3 separate regions of the Homo sapiens genome follow, and regions 1 and 2 are each linked to region 3. Evidence: promoter capture Hi-C in 16 types of primary human blood cells and fetal thymus (Javierre and others, 2016). All regions are on one chromosome and are shown on one strand. Each heading gives the region's core, a stretch centred on a gene start or on the middle of the fragment in contact. The rest is flanking DNA. Distances are from core to core; before and after follow the strand shown.

The links. The method cuts DNA at HindIII sites, captures the fragments that hold promoters and counts their contacts. A CHiCAGO score of 5 or more calls a contact.
Region 1: a contact is called between a fragment that was not itself captured here and the fragment with the promoter of PRKCH in region 3, in 12 of 17 cell types (activated CD4 T cells, non-activated CD4 T cells, M1 macrophages and 9 more). The highest score is 19.6, in activated CD4 T cells.
Region 2: a fragment that was not itself captured here is called in contact with the fragment with the promoter of PRKCH in region 3 in 1 of 17 cell types (monocytes); the score reaches 5.2 in monocytes.

Annotation. Positions count from the first base shown.
Region 1 is chr14:61,832,538-61,836,436 of GRCh38, forward strand. The region is part of intron 1 of SYT16 (synaptotagmin 16); the gene reads left to right. Among named protein-coding and RNA genes, the nearest start is that of SYT16, 22 kb to the left of the region's middle. RefSeq lists an enhancer at 1-81. The HindIII fragment of the contact is 3,687 bases long and covers 530-3,899 here.
Region 2 is chr14:61,856,887-61,860,518 of GRCh38, forward strand. The region is part of intron 1 of SYT16 (synaptotagmin 16); the gene reads left to right. Among named protein-coding and RNA genes, the nearest start is that of SYT16, 46 kb to the left of the region's middle. The HindIII fragment of the contact is 927 bases long and covers 1,652-2,578 here.
Region 3 is chr14:61,319,746-61,323,522 of GRCh38, forward strand. PRKCH (protein kinase C eta) reads left to right here and starts at 1,834. Exons shown (of 14, transcript NM_006255.5): 1 at 1,834-2,719. The coding sequence starts at 2,357. PRKCH-AS1 (PRKCH antisense RNA 1) reads right to left here and starts at 3,073. Exons shown (of 5, transcript NR_186042.1): 1 at 2,790-3,073. RefSeq lists silencers at 1,627-1,896, 2,047-2,216 and enhancers at 2,178-2,722, 2,723-3,266. The HindIII fragment of the contact is 5,451 bases long and covers 937-3,777 here.

The sequences.
Region 1 (3,899 bases), core at 1,123-3,622, 510 kb after region 3:
GTGATTCTCCTGCCTCAGCCTCCCGAGTAGCTGGGATTGCAGGTACCCGCCACCATGCCTGGCTAATTTTTTGTATTTTTAGTATAGATGGGGTTTCACCATGTTGGCCAGGCTGGTCTCGGACACCTGACCTCAGGTGATCCGCCCACCTCGGCCTCTCAAGGTGTTAGGATTACATGCGTGAGCCACCGTGCCCGGCCCAGCCCAGTAGTTCTTTTTAAAGGTGGCTCTGTTATATTATTTAACCTAGCAATAGTTTTGTTTTCCACTAATAATATTTTTTATTTATAAAATTTTATTTGGTTATTTAAAATAAATCTATCCCTTTGCCAGAGTATCTTATTCCTTCACTATGGTTTCTAAATTATTTTAAAACTTGACTATTTTGTAGTCCGTTTAATTCATCTATTGTTTTCACTTCTTAAGGTGTCAATTTTCAGGTCTGCTGATTCACCCTCATGGTGATTCGTTTCCTCCTGTGTTCTGTGATATTTAATTGTGCTAGTTCATCTTCAGTGAGTTTTCCATAAGCTTTGAGCTGTAAAATTATTTATTTCAATCTCTGTCTGTAAGGACGGAGATTTTCATGTTGTGTTTACTGTATCCCTAGGAATTTTGGTGGTCCTGGATCACTTTTTATAGTAACAATTCATCTTGGAGTATTAAAAACTGTATGGAGGAAACATTTAGACCCCTCAACCTGTGCAAGTCCTAGATTTCTATTTCTCATGGCTCATGGGTGGCTTTTTTTTCTTTTCTTTTTTTTTTTTTTGAGACGGAGTCTTGTTCTTGTTGCCCAGACTGGAGTGCGATGGCTCGATCTCAGCTCACTGCAACCTCTGCCTCCCGGGTTCAAGCGATTTTCCTGCCTCAGCCTCCCGAGTAGCTGGGATTACAGGCATGGGCCACCATGCCCATCTAATTTTGTATTTTTAGTAGAGACGGGGTTTCTCCATGTTGGTCAGGCTGGTCTCGAACTTCTGACCTCAGGTGATCTGCCTGTCTCCAAAGTGCTGGGATTACAGGCGTGAGCCACCGTGCTTGGCCAATTTTTGTATTTTTAGTAGAGACAGAGTTTTGCCATGTTGGCCAGGCTGGTCTTGAACTCCTGACCTTGTGATCCCAAAGTGCTGGGATTACAGACATTAGCCACTGCGCCCAGCAGTGGCTTTTTTTTTTTTTTTTTTTTTAAATTTAAATTTTAAACTCAAGGACCAGGGCACTCAGCAGCTTCCTCGCTCTTTCTTTGCGCTAGCGAGCAGGCTGTGTACAGTTTCCTTTTTACTTACAGGACTGTTCTTTAAGGTGCAGGGCTTTATTCCTGCAGGGAGTTGGAGGTGGAGCTTCCAATCCTGTTCTTTTTCCCTGTGGAGTCCCATAGCCTCTAAGTCTGAAACTAAATTTCCAGTGGATTGCTGAAGCTCTGGCTTTGATTTTTTTTTTTTTTTTTTTTAAATTTTGGAATCTGGGAGATACTTGTTCTTTGGAAGTAATTTTGCTTATTGGTTATATTTTATTTAGAATTTCCATGTGTTTTTAGTGGGAAGGATGCATCCATATCAGCTCTGTATACTACACGGTTAAATGTCCTGATTCACATTTATTTTTTTTGAGATGGAGTCTCCCACTGTCGCCTGGGCTGGAGAGCAGTGGTGCGATCTCGGCTCACTGTAACCTCCACCTCCCAGGTTCAAGCAATTCTCCTGCCTCAGCCTCCTGAGTAGCTGGGATTACAGGCACCTGCCACCATGCCTGGCTAATTTTTTATATTTTTAGTAGAGACAGGGTTCCATCATGTTAGCCAGGTTGGTCTTAGACTCTTGGCCTCGTGATCTGCCTGCCTTGGCCTCTCAAAGTGCTGGGATTACAGGCATGAGCCACCGTGCCTGGCTTTTTTTTTTTTTTTTTTTTTTTTGAGACAGAGTCTTGCTCTTGTTGCCCAGGCTGGAGTGCAATGTGGTGTGATCTCGGCTCACTGCAACCTCTGCCTCCCGGGTTTAAGTGATTCTTCTGCCCCAGCCTCCCAAGTAGCTGGGATTACAGGTGTGCGCCACCATGCCTGGCTAATTTTGTATTTTTAGTAGAGATGGGGTTTCACCATGTTGGCCAGGTTGGTCTTGAACTCCTGACCTCAGGTGATCTGCTTTCCTTGGCCTCCCAAAGTGTTGAGATTACAGACATGAGCCACTGCACCCAGCCCTGATTCACATTTGATATACCAGATCACCCATCCATCTATCCAGTTGTACTGGTATATAAATACTGTTTGATGCTCTGAATTGTTCTCTCTTAAAATTATTCATTAAACACACTGCTGTATTCCAATTACCTGTTGTTTGAAAAAGATGTGTGTTGATATATGATGGTATATAGCATAGCATTCCCATAAAACCAGGCATGTGTTTGGGAATATTTGTTTCCAAAGCACTTGTTTTAGTTTCATTAAGGTCTTAAAGAAACTTACCTTTTTATAAATCCTGACCTTTTATACCCACTTTGCATATGAAGATATTAAGAGAAATTGTTGCATTGTTTGCTGTGATAAGACATTTTCAAGGAAGAAGGCAGTGTGTGCTGATTTATAGCTTTAAGAACAGCAAAAAACAGTTAATAGGCTGCTACTTTGAGCAGCACTGACTAGTGGAGTAATGTGTATAAGGACCTGCCTTTTCAATAAATAGTACACTGTAAATGTTGTCTCATGAAAGGTGAATTTTTTTTTTTTTTTTTTTTTTTTTGAGACAGAGTCTCACATTGTCGCCCGGGGAAAGAGTGCAGTGGCGCGGTCTCGGCTCACTGCAACCTCCTCCTTCTGGGTTCAAGTGATTCTCCTGCTTCAGCCTCCCAAGTAACTGGGATTACAGGCGCCTGCCACCATGCCCAGCTAATTTTTTGTATTCTTAGTAGAGATGGGGTTTCATTATGTTGGCCAGGCTGGTCTCAAACTCCCGACCTCTTGATCTGCCCATCTTGGCCTCCCAAAGTGCTGGGATTACAGGCGTGAGCCACTGCGCCCGGCCAGGTGACTTTTTTTTTTTATGATTGATTTTATCAATCACCTTTTTATGGCCATTTAGGGATTTTTAAAAGATCAAAAAATACTGCCAGAATATTCCTGAAATTATCTTTTTACACTGTTTTCTTCTTCTGGGTGCAGAACTGCTGAGTCAAAGGATATACTCATTTAATATTTTGATGTTGCCAAATTTCCCTACAGAAGGATTGTACCAATTTATACTTTGATCAGCAGCACATTGATAACAAAATCAAACAAAACTTTTCTACAGAAATACATTTTAAACTATAGATAATGGAACAAAAATTTTCCTACCTGGCTCACAGAAACTTTTCCTGTCTTTCTCAATTTACATGTCCCAGGTGAGTAAGACCCACTCTCGTTGGCCTAGAACGGTGGTTTACAAAATATGGTTACTGGACTAGTAACGTTGCCATCACCGGGAACTTGTTAGAAATTTAATTAATCAGAACTTGTATCAGATCCACTGATTGAGAAACCTGGTGGAGCGTAGCAATCAGTGTTTTGATTAGCCCCCCAGGTGATTCTGGTACTTGCTAAAGTTTGAAAACCACTGGTCTAGGGGCAGCTTATCTTTGTATAACCCAGAGGTCAGCTCAAGTCTTTACTCCTGTATCCTTCATACACATCATAGAAATTGAATTCCTGGGGGTTGATTTCTCATGGTACCTTCCACCTCTTTGTGCCTGCACCTGCGTGTGTTTATTGCTCTACTTTACTGCCGGTGGCTGCTCTTGTGTCTGCATTGCAATGGCCCAGATCGGCAAAGGAAAAGGAATCCATTTGCCTTAATTCACACAAACATCAGCAGTCCATTCACTTGAAAGGCATTTGAATATGTAGAAAACCAATTGATGGTTTG
Region 2 (3,632 bases), core at 865-3,364, 540 kb after region 3:
TGAGGTAGGAGGAAACACACGATATTTAATATCCTAGAAGCCAAGAAAAATCTGCTTCAAAAAAGAGAATGATCAACCATGTCAAATGTGGTTAAGTTAGATGAGGATCATCTTAGTTTGGGTTCTCTAAGGCAGAGATGGTGGACAAGGTATTTATTTGGGAGATGATCCCAGGAACAGGAATGAGAGAGCAGAGAAGTGAGATAGTGAAAGAAGAAAGCCAATAAAGGGTGTGTTATTGAGATGGTTGCTCCAGACTGTGGGGTCAGCTCCACTGAGACATCTAAGAAGGATGTAAAGCGCCAGCCACAATTTTCTGCTCAGACAATGGGAAGCTGGGACATGTGTCTGGTCCCCCTTGGTTGAGGGTTTTCTTGAGAGTGTTAACTCTTCTCTACTTCTGGGATTTGCAAGCTCTTGTGGGAGAAACCTTGAGGCTGAAAGCAGAGAGAGATGAGGTGGGTGCTTGTTAAGGAATGCTGTTAATGAGCACGGAACCAACTGCAGCTATGACTGAAATTAGAGGTGGGCCCAGGGAACATGACATGTACCATAGAAAGTGTCTACTTCGAAGATTGACAGTTGACTGCCAGAGTTTACAAAGTGAGTTTCCCTAGTGACCTTGAGAAAGCAATGTAATGGAGTGGTGGGGTAAGCCTGGCTGGAGTTGGTTAAGGAAGAGGGGCTGGAAAGAGCATATAGACAGTACTAAAGGAGAGTGCAGTCAAGAGGCTGGAGGGGAAGTGGGAGCAAGAGATTTTCTTCTTAAGATGGGAGAAATAATAGCATGTACAGTGATAGGAATAACTCAGTAGAAAGGGAAAAATCTCTGATGCAGGAGAGAAAGAATTGATGGAACAGTGTCTTTGAGTAGAAGAGAGGTTGGAATCCAGTGCATAAATGGAGGATTTGACCTAAGATGGGAACACAAGCAATTCATCTCTAATAAAAGGGAAGAAAGAGTATATGGAAGGAAAGTTTGGTCCCTTCTGATTGTCTGTCTGTCTGTCTGTCATTTTGACAGGGGGAAAAAACATTCAAAATTTATTTTCCAGCAGACAGCATCAGTGGATAAAACTACAGGGGTTTCTCTGTAGATCATACATTCACAAGACATTATCATCTCAACAGTGAGAAAGCCACTGTTGTGTTCTCCGTAACAGTATCCACTTCACAGTGTAAGCATGTACTATTGTGTTCACTTACAATTCCAGAAGGAAAGGCACAGCTTGGCAAAAAAAAAAAAAAAAAAAAAAAGAAAGAAAAAAAGAAAAAAAAAATTGGGGAATCCTAAAGTCAAGGTGCAATAACTAAGAGACAAAACTTGGCAAACAGTCTTAGGTCCACATTTCAATCAGGGCCTTCCGCATACAGGGGAAAGACTTTTCCACCCAGAAGTTAGGATCTTTCTTTCTCCTTTCCCGTTAAGCCATTAGAGGAACAATAATTCATATGCTCAATGTTATTACATGTACAAAAGGAGATTATAAAAAAATGGAATAAAAAGATCATCTTGAACATTCAGTTCTTCCCACCAATACATCAACTCTTAAGTTTAAGACAGGGCCTGGGAATACTTCAGTGGTCTTAAAATAGGAAAGCAGAGACTATGACTACAACAAATAAAAAATAAATGAGGTAGATAAAATAAAGCTTTCACACCCAGGATTTGCCTGTTCCAACTTCCTAGGCTTCATGAAATACCCAGGAAAAAAAATCTTCATAATTACTTGGCATAAGTCGCACCAAGGAAATTAAACAAAAAAATTAGTACGTGAACTTGTGATAGGAAACGTGTCCTTCCATAAGTTTCTTCTCAAGAATGAAAAACTAGTTTTTCAATAGAGTAGGCACTGATACAGGGGTTAAGAAGAAATCACTTAGGCAGATAGTAAGGTTATGGGAGTCCTCGGTAAGGCTTTTTAATGAAAAGCAGCCCCAAATCATTTTCTTTTTTCTTTTCTTTTCTTTTCTTTTTTTTTTTTTGAGACGGAGTCTCACTCTGTTGCCCAGGCTGGAGTGCGGCTGTGCGATCTCGGCTCACTGCAACCTCCGCCTCCTGGGTTCACGCCATTCTCCTGCCTCAGCCTCCCGAGTAGCTGGGACTACAGGCGCCCACCACTACGCCCGGCTAATTTTTTTTTTTGTATTTTTAGTAGAGACGGGGTTTCACCATGTTAGCCAGGATGGTCTTGATCTCCTGACCTCATGATTCGCCCGCCTCGGCCTCCCAAAGTGTTGGGATTACAGGCGTGAGCCACCGCGCCCGGCCAGCCCCAAATCATTTTCTAACAAAGAGCAGCCTGTAAAGTCGAGCTGCAGACGTAGACAGCCAACCTGGGAGCTTGCGCTAGTGAATGCTGGCGGGAACTAGGGACTAGACATGTTGGCTCCATCTTCCTTTAGGTGCCAGCCATGTGTACAGTAAAGAGCGACAAGATGGCGGCCAGACACGGAGAGTTCATTAGCATAATAAGATTAGGGTGGGGTGACCGGATTTGGGCGTGCTATGTAAACTTCACATTTGATTAAACCAATCTGTGAGCCCTACCTACCTAAATCAGACACCACCTCCTCAAGCTTTACTATACAATCCGGCACATCCACAGCCAGCCCATCTTTTCCGCTCGGAAAACCCCTCTCTCTCTCGACAGAGAGAGCTGTTTCTCTTCTTCTGCCTATTAAACCTTTACTCCTAAAGGTTTAGGACACAGACACAAACTCCTTGTGTCTGTGTCCTAAATTTTCCAATGCCAAATGGTGAGCCCCTGGATATATACCCCAGACAATGTAGCCTCCTCAGCACTGGAAAACCAAATTAAGTCACCTGAGATTCCTAGCTCAAGTGCTCACAGGAAGATGAAGGCATCTGGGAAGTGTGGGGAGGACATTGGCACACTTGGGGCTCCAAGCGAACTATATTATAATAAGCAGCAACACATTGACTCCCTAAAGACTAACATAAATCCATTTGAAGGCATCTTAAGGTTCTAAGGTTGAAATAATTTTATAATTCTTTGTTTGGAAAAGTACATTCAAAAGAAAACAAAAAGATGTGGATAAGGTCGGGGACATATAAAACAAGTCCCTAAATAGATGACAGACCTTGTCCATATACCCACATACAGTTGCCACAGAAATAAACAGTACCCTTCTCCTCAATTAGGCTCAATAGTTGTCTTTTCCACTGTGGTTCAGTACGTTTTAATGGTTCCACCTTGAAATAGGTAACAATCTTTGGAAAAAGTCACTCTAGGTTGCACAAAGGTTTTATGTTTACAGTTTGGTACAAGTAACAAAGCTACTTTGAAAGAACTGCTTCTTTCCAAACAACAACAACAACAACAACAAACCATTCTAGCCTGTATTTGTTTGGGTGTGATTTATTTTTAGTTTTCATTTTTTGCAAAGCAGCACAGAAGCAATTATAGGAGTGTAGTAATAACCTTTGTAAACATCATTTGCATATCAGTAAGAACTGATTGTCTTTCATTCCTTTTTAGTGAAAGAGGAAGCAAGATGATCAACTCAGAGTGAATAAGGTGGGGAGGTGCTGGCAATTTGAGATTTGTCATCTAGGACTGCAGTGCACAAAGTGGCCAGTTGGGGAGCCCTTGGTTACTGACTTGCCA
Region 3 (3,777 bases), core at 584-3,083:
ACTAAGGCCAAACAGGAGCCCCCTGGACGTTTGGGAGCAGGCTTTACAAGCCCTGCCTAAAGCTAAGATGTCATTAGAGTGATGCGTTGCATCCCTGCCTTGTTCTCTAAGGAAGCTTTGGTGTTTTCAAGACAGGCCCTTTCCCCCCTGGCCCATTGTCCTTACTTGTTTTCATTCTGTATAGTGCTGTTATTACGGGTCAGGCCTCCTTGCACTCATGTGAAATCGTTGAGAACCTACTCAATTAGAAAGTTCTGAACAGGGCCTTAGAGGAGTGGGGGCTAGAAAGATGAACCTGGGGCCAGGCACGGGGGCTCATGCCTGTAATCTTAACACTTTAGGAGGCAGGGGCTGGAAGATCACTTGAACCTGGGAGCTGGAGGTTATGGTAAGCCATGATCACACCGCTGTATTCCAGCCTGGATGACAAAGCAAAACCCAGTCTCTAAAACATAAAAGAAAGAAAGGAGGGAAGGAAGAAAGAAAGGAATGAAAGCAAGCCGAATCTGCTCCGAGGGAACCAGTATAGCAAGACAGAATGTAATCAAGTATCTTAAGAGTGGCCTAGGCTTGGCTGGGTGCTGTGGCTCACGCCTGTAATCTCAGCACTTTGGGAGGCCGAGGCAGGCGAATCACTTGAGGTCGGGAGTTTGAGACCAGCCTGACCAACATGGAGAAACCCTGTCTCTACTAAAAATACAAAATTAGCCGGGCGTGGTGGCGCATGCCTGTAATTCCAGCTACTCGGGAGGCTGGGGCAGGTGAATCGCTCGAACCTGGGAGGCGGAGGTTGCGGTGAGCCGAGATGGCGCCATTGCACTCCAGCCTGGGCAACAAAAGCGAAACTCCGTCTCAAAAACAACAACAACAACAACAACAAAAAGTGGCCTAGGCTTTTTGGGGAACAAATTGGTTGTGGCTGGCCCTCAGGGAGCAAGCTTTGCGGCATAGCAGCGTAGGCTAAAAGGTCCTCCCCGGAGACAAAATCTGCAGGGACCACGGGGTGGGAAGCATCAGAAGGCTGCCCACTCTGACTGCAAATACAACAAGCTGGAGTGTTCCTAGAAGAGGCAATTTCTTCCGCGTGTGTGTTGGGGACAGCCTGTGTGTGTGAACATTTTCTGCCCTTGCCGCGCAGAGCTGGGTGGACCAGAAACCACCCGCAGAGGAAGAGACTTATTACCTCTTGGCCATGTCTGTCTCCAGAAGAACCGACCTTTCCTGCTCTATGTGCAACAAGACACACCTTCCGAGGAAGGAGGCGAACAGGATTTCCATCATTACTACTGCCCTATTAAAACACACACATACACACAACTGTGTAATTAGCCTCTGCAGGAAAGGCGCACAAACAGGATGCGTTCGAGCTGACCCCGGGATGAGCCATCCCTGTAAATATTAGGAAAAAGAACCTCCCCGCCGTGCCCCCGCCTCCGGCCAGGGCCTCTTGGGGATGGCCCTGCAGGGTCACCAGCCCACCGGGGAGGTTGGGAGAGAGGGGGCGGGCGACTCCTCGCCGCGCGGGTTCCTGGCTGGAGCGCCCTCCTCTGCGTCCTCCCAACCTTCCATCGCTCCCCAGGTCAGTCTACCACGCCTCAGGTGTTTGCTCGGGCTGGGCCACGAACCCTTTCCTTTTTGGCCTGCGCCCGGGGTGGCCCCTAACCCGCAGCGCACGGCCAGACCCAGCGCTACAAGGAGGGCGCGCAGGGCGGCGCAAGCGGGCACTGGCCTCCCGGGGGCTTGCGCGGGGATCCACCCACCGCAGGGCCGGGCCGCGGACCGCGGGCCACGCCCCTGGGGTCCGGAAGGCGCGGGAGCGGACGCGGGGGTTCTGTGAACTTGGAACCTGGCGGTGCGAGGTTCTCGCCGGGGATGCGGCGGCGGCAGCTGCTTCCTGGTTTGAAGCTCGCCGAGTGGGGGAGAGCGTGAGCCTTCGGAGGCGGGGGCAGGAGGAGAAGCAAGAGGAGGCGGGGGAAGAGACGCTTGGGGCTGGGGCTCACCGGACGGGTAGGTCCGGCTCTCCAGGGAGAGGAGCTGCCCGGCCCTGGAGAAGGGGCGAGTCCTGCGCGAGTCCCCGGGAGGCGCCGCGCGCTTGGAAGGGACGGTCGGGCTTCCCCGGCCCGCTGAGGGCTCGGCGGCGGGCTCCCCTCCTTTCCACCTCGGGAGGGAGGGAAGGAGGGGAGGGAAAAGTCCCACGGAGGAGGCAGAATGGCCAGTCGAGGGGCGCTTAGGCGCTGCCTTTCCCCAGGGCTGCCTCGACTCCTGCACCTGTCCCGAGGGCTGGCCTGAGACGGGACTCCCGGTTCTCCCGCTGCGAAGCAGCGCGGCCCCCCGGGGCCGGGGCAGCGGCGCCGGCATGTCGTCTGGCACCATGAAGTTCAATGGCTATTTGAGGGTCCGCATCGGTGAGGCAGTGGGGCTGCAGCCCACCCGCTGGTCCCTGCGCCACTCGCTCTTCAAGAAGGGCCACCAGCTGCTGGACCCCTATCTGACGGTGAGCGTGGACCAGGTGCGCGTGGGCCAGACCAGCACCAAGCAGAAGACCAACAAACCCACGTACAACGAGGAGTTTTGCGCTAACGTCACCGACGGCGGCCACCTCGAGTTGGCCGTCTTCCACGAGACGCCCCTGGGCTACGACCACTTCGTGGCCAACTGCACCCTGCAGTTCCAGGAGCTGCTGCGCACGACCGGCGCCTCGGACACCTTCGAGGGTTGGGTGAGTAGCGGTGACCCCTTCCCTTTGTGTCCACCCAACCCCCGTTCCCCTTATGTTTTTCAAAACTCACCCGGGTCCCGCTTTCCCATCGCTTTGTGGCTGAGGGAATTCCCTCCAGACTTTGGTCTTCGTCCACGTGGCCGCGGCACTGGTGACGCGACCGCGGTGGGTGTGTGCAGGCGCAGGTGTGTCTCCAGGAAGCCGGCCTGGACACGATCCCCTTTCAGGACAGCGGCTTGGCCTAACGGGAAGTCGGGCAGGGGTCCAGGGCGGTCACCCTTTCCGCCCAGTCTTTGGGTAAGGAGCTCCAACTTTCAGCACGAGAGTGATAGGTAGGAAAGGCAGGGAAGGAGTGATACAAAAGGGACTTGATTTGGGTAAAGTGCTTCAAGCGCTACTTAGGAGAAAGCCGTACATTCTCGCGAGTATTATTCATAATGTTTATGGATACATGTTGGTTCAGCCGCTCAGACGTGCACACGTGTTTCGGCTTGCACATCCCAGAGGTACATGAGCTACACTGGCAGGGAAATGAGCGCCTGGGTCTGCACGTTGGCAGTTTTATTATTTAGCATTTTTCCAAGGAGATGAGATTTACATATACTTGCAAGTAACTTAGTCAGTCCGAGGTGGGAGTCCTGCAGTGTGGGTTTCTGCTGCTATGGGTCTGAGAAGAGGCTGTAAGGACTCCTCAGGAGGTTGTTAACTGTCTTCCCTCCCCCCATCACCAGCCTGTGTTCCTGGGTATTGACGTGTAGCTACCCGCAGCTCTCCCCTTGCCTCTGCTTTTCACATAGTTCCCAGGAGGCATAATTTCTGCTGTAAATCAATTAAAACTTCTAGAGCGCTCTACACGGTGCTAACATGCTTTTACTGCCTAATCCTCACACTGTCTTTGTGATGCAGGTGTCATCGTTCCCACTTTGAGATGATGGAATGATAATTATAATAAAGTAGTCTGGTTTGGCAAAGTGGAGTACGCCATTTGAAGACTCTCAGGAGTTTAATAGTTTAAGTTCTGGAGGGAGTCAGTTTTGAACCCAATATCAGTATTGAAA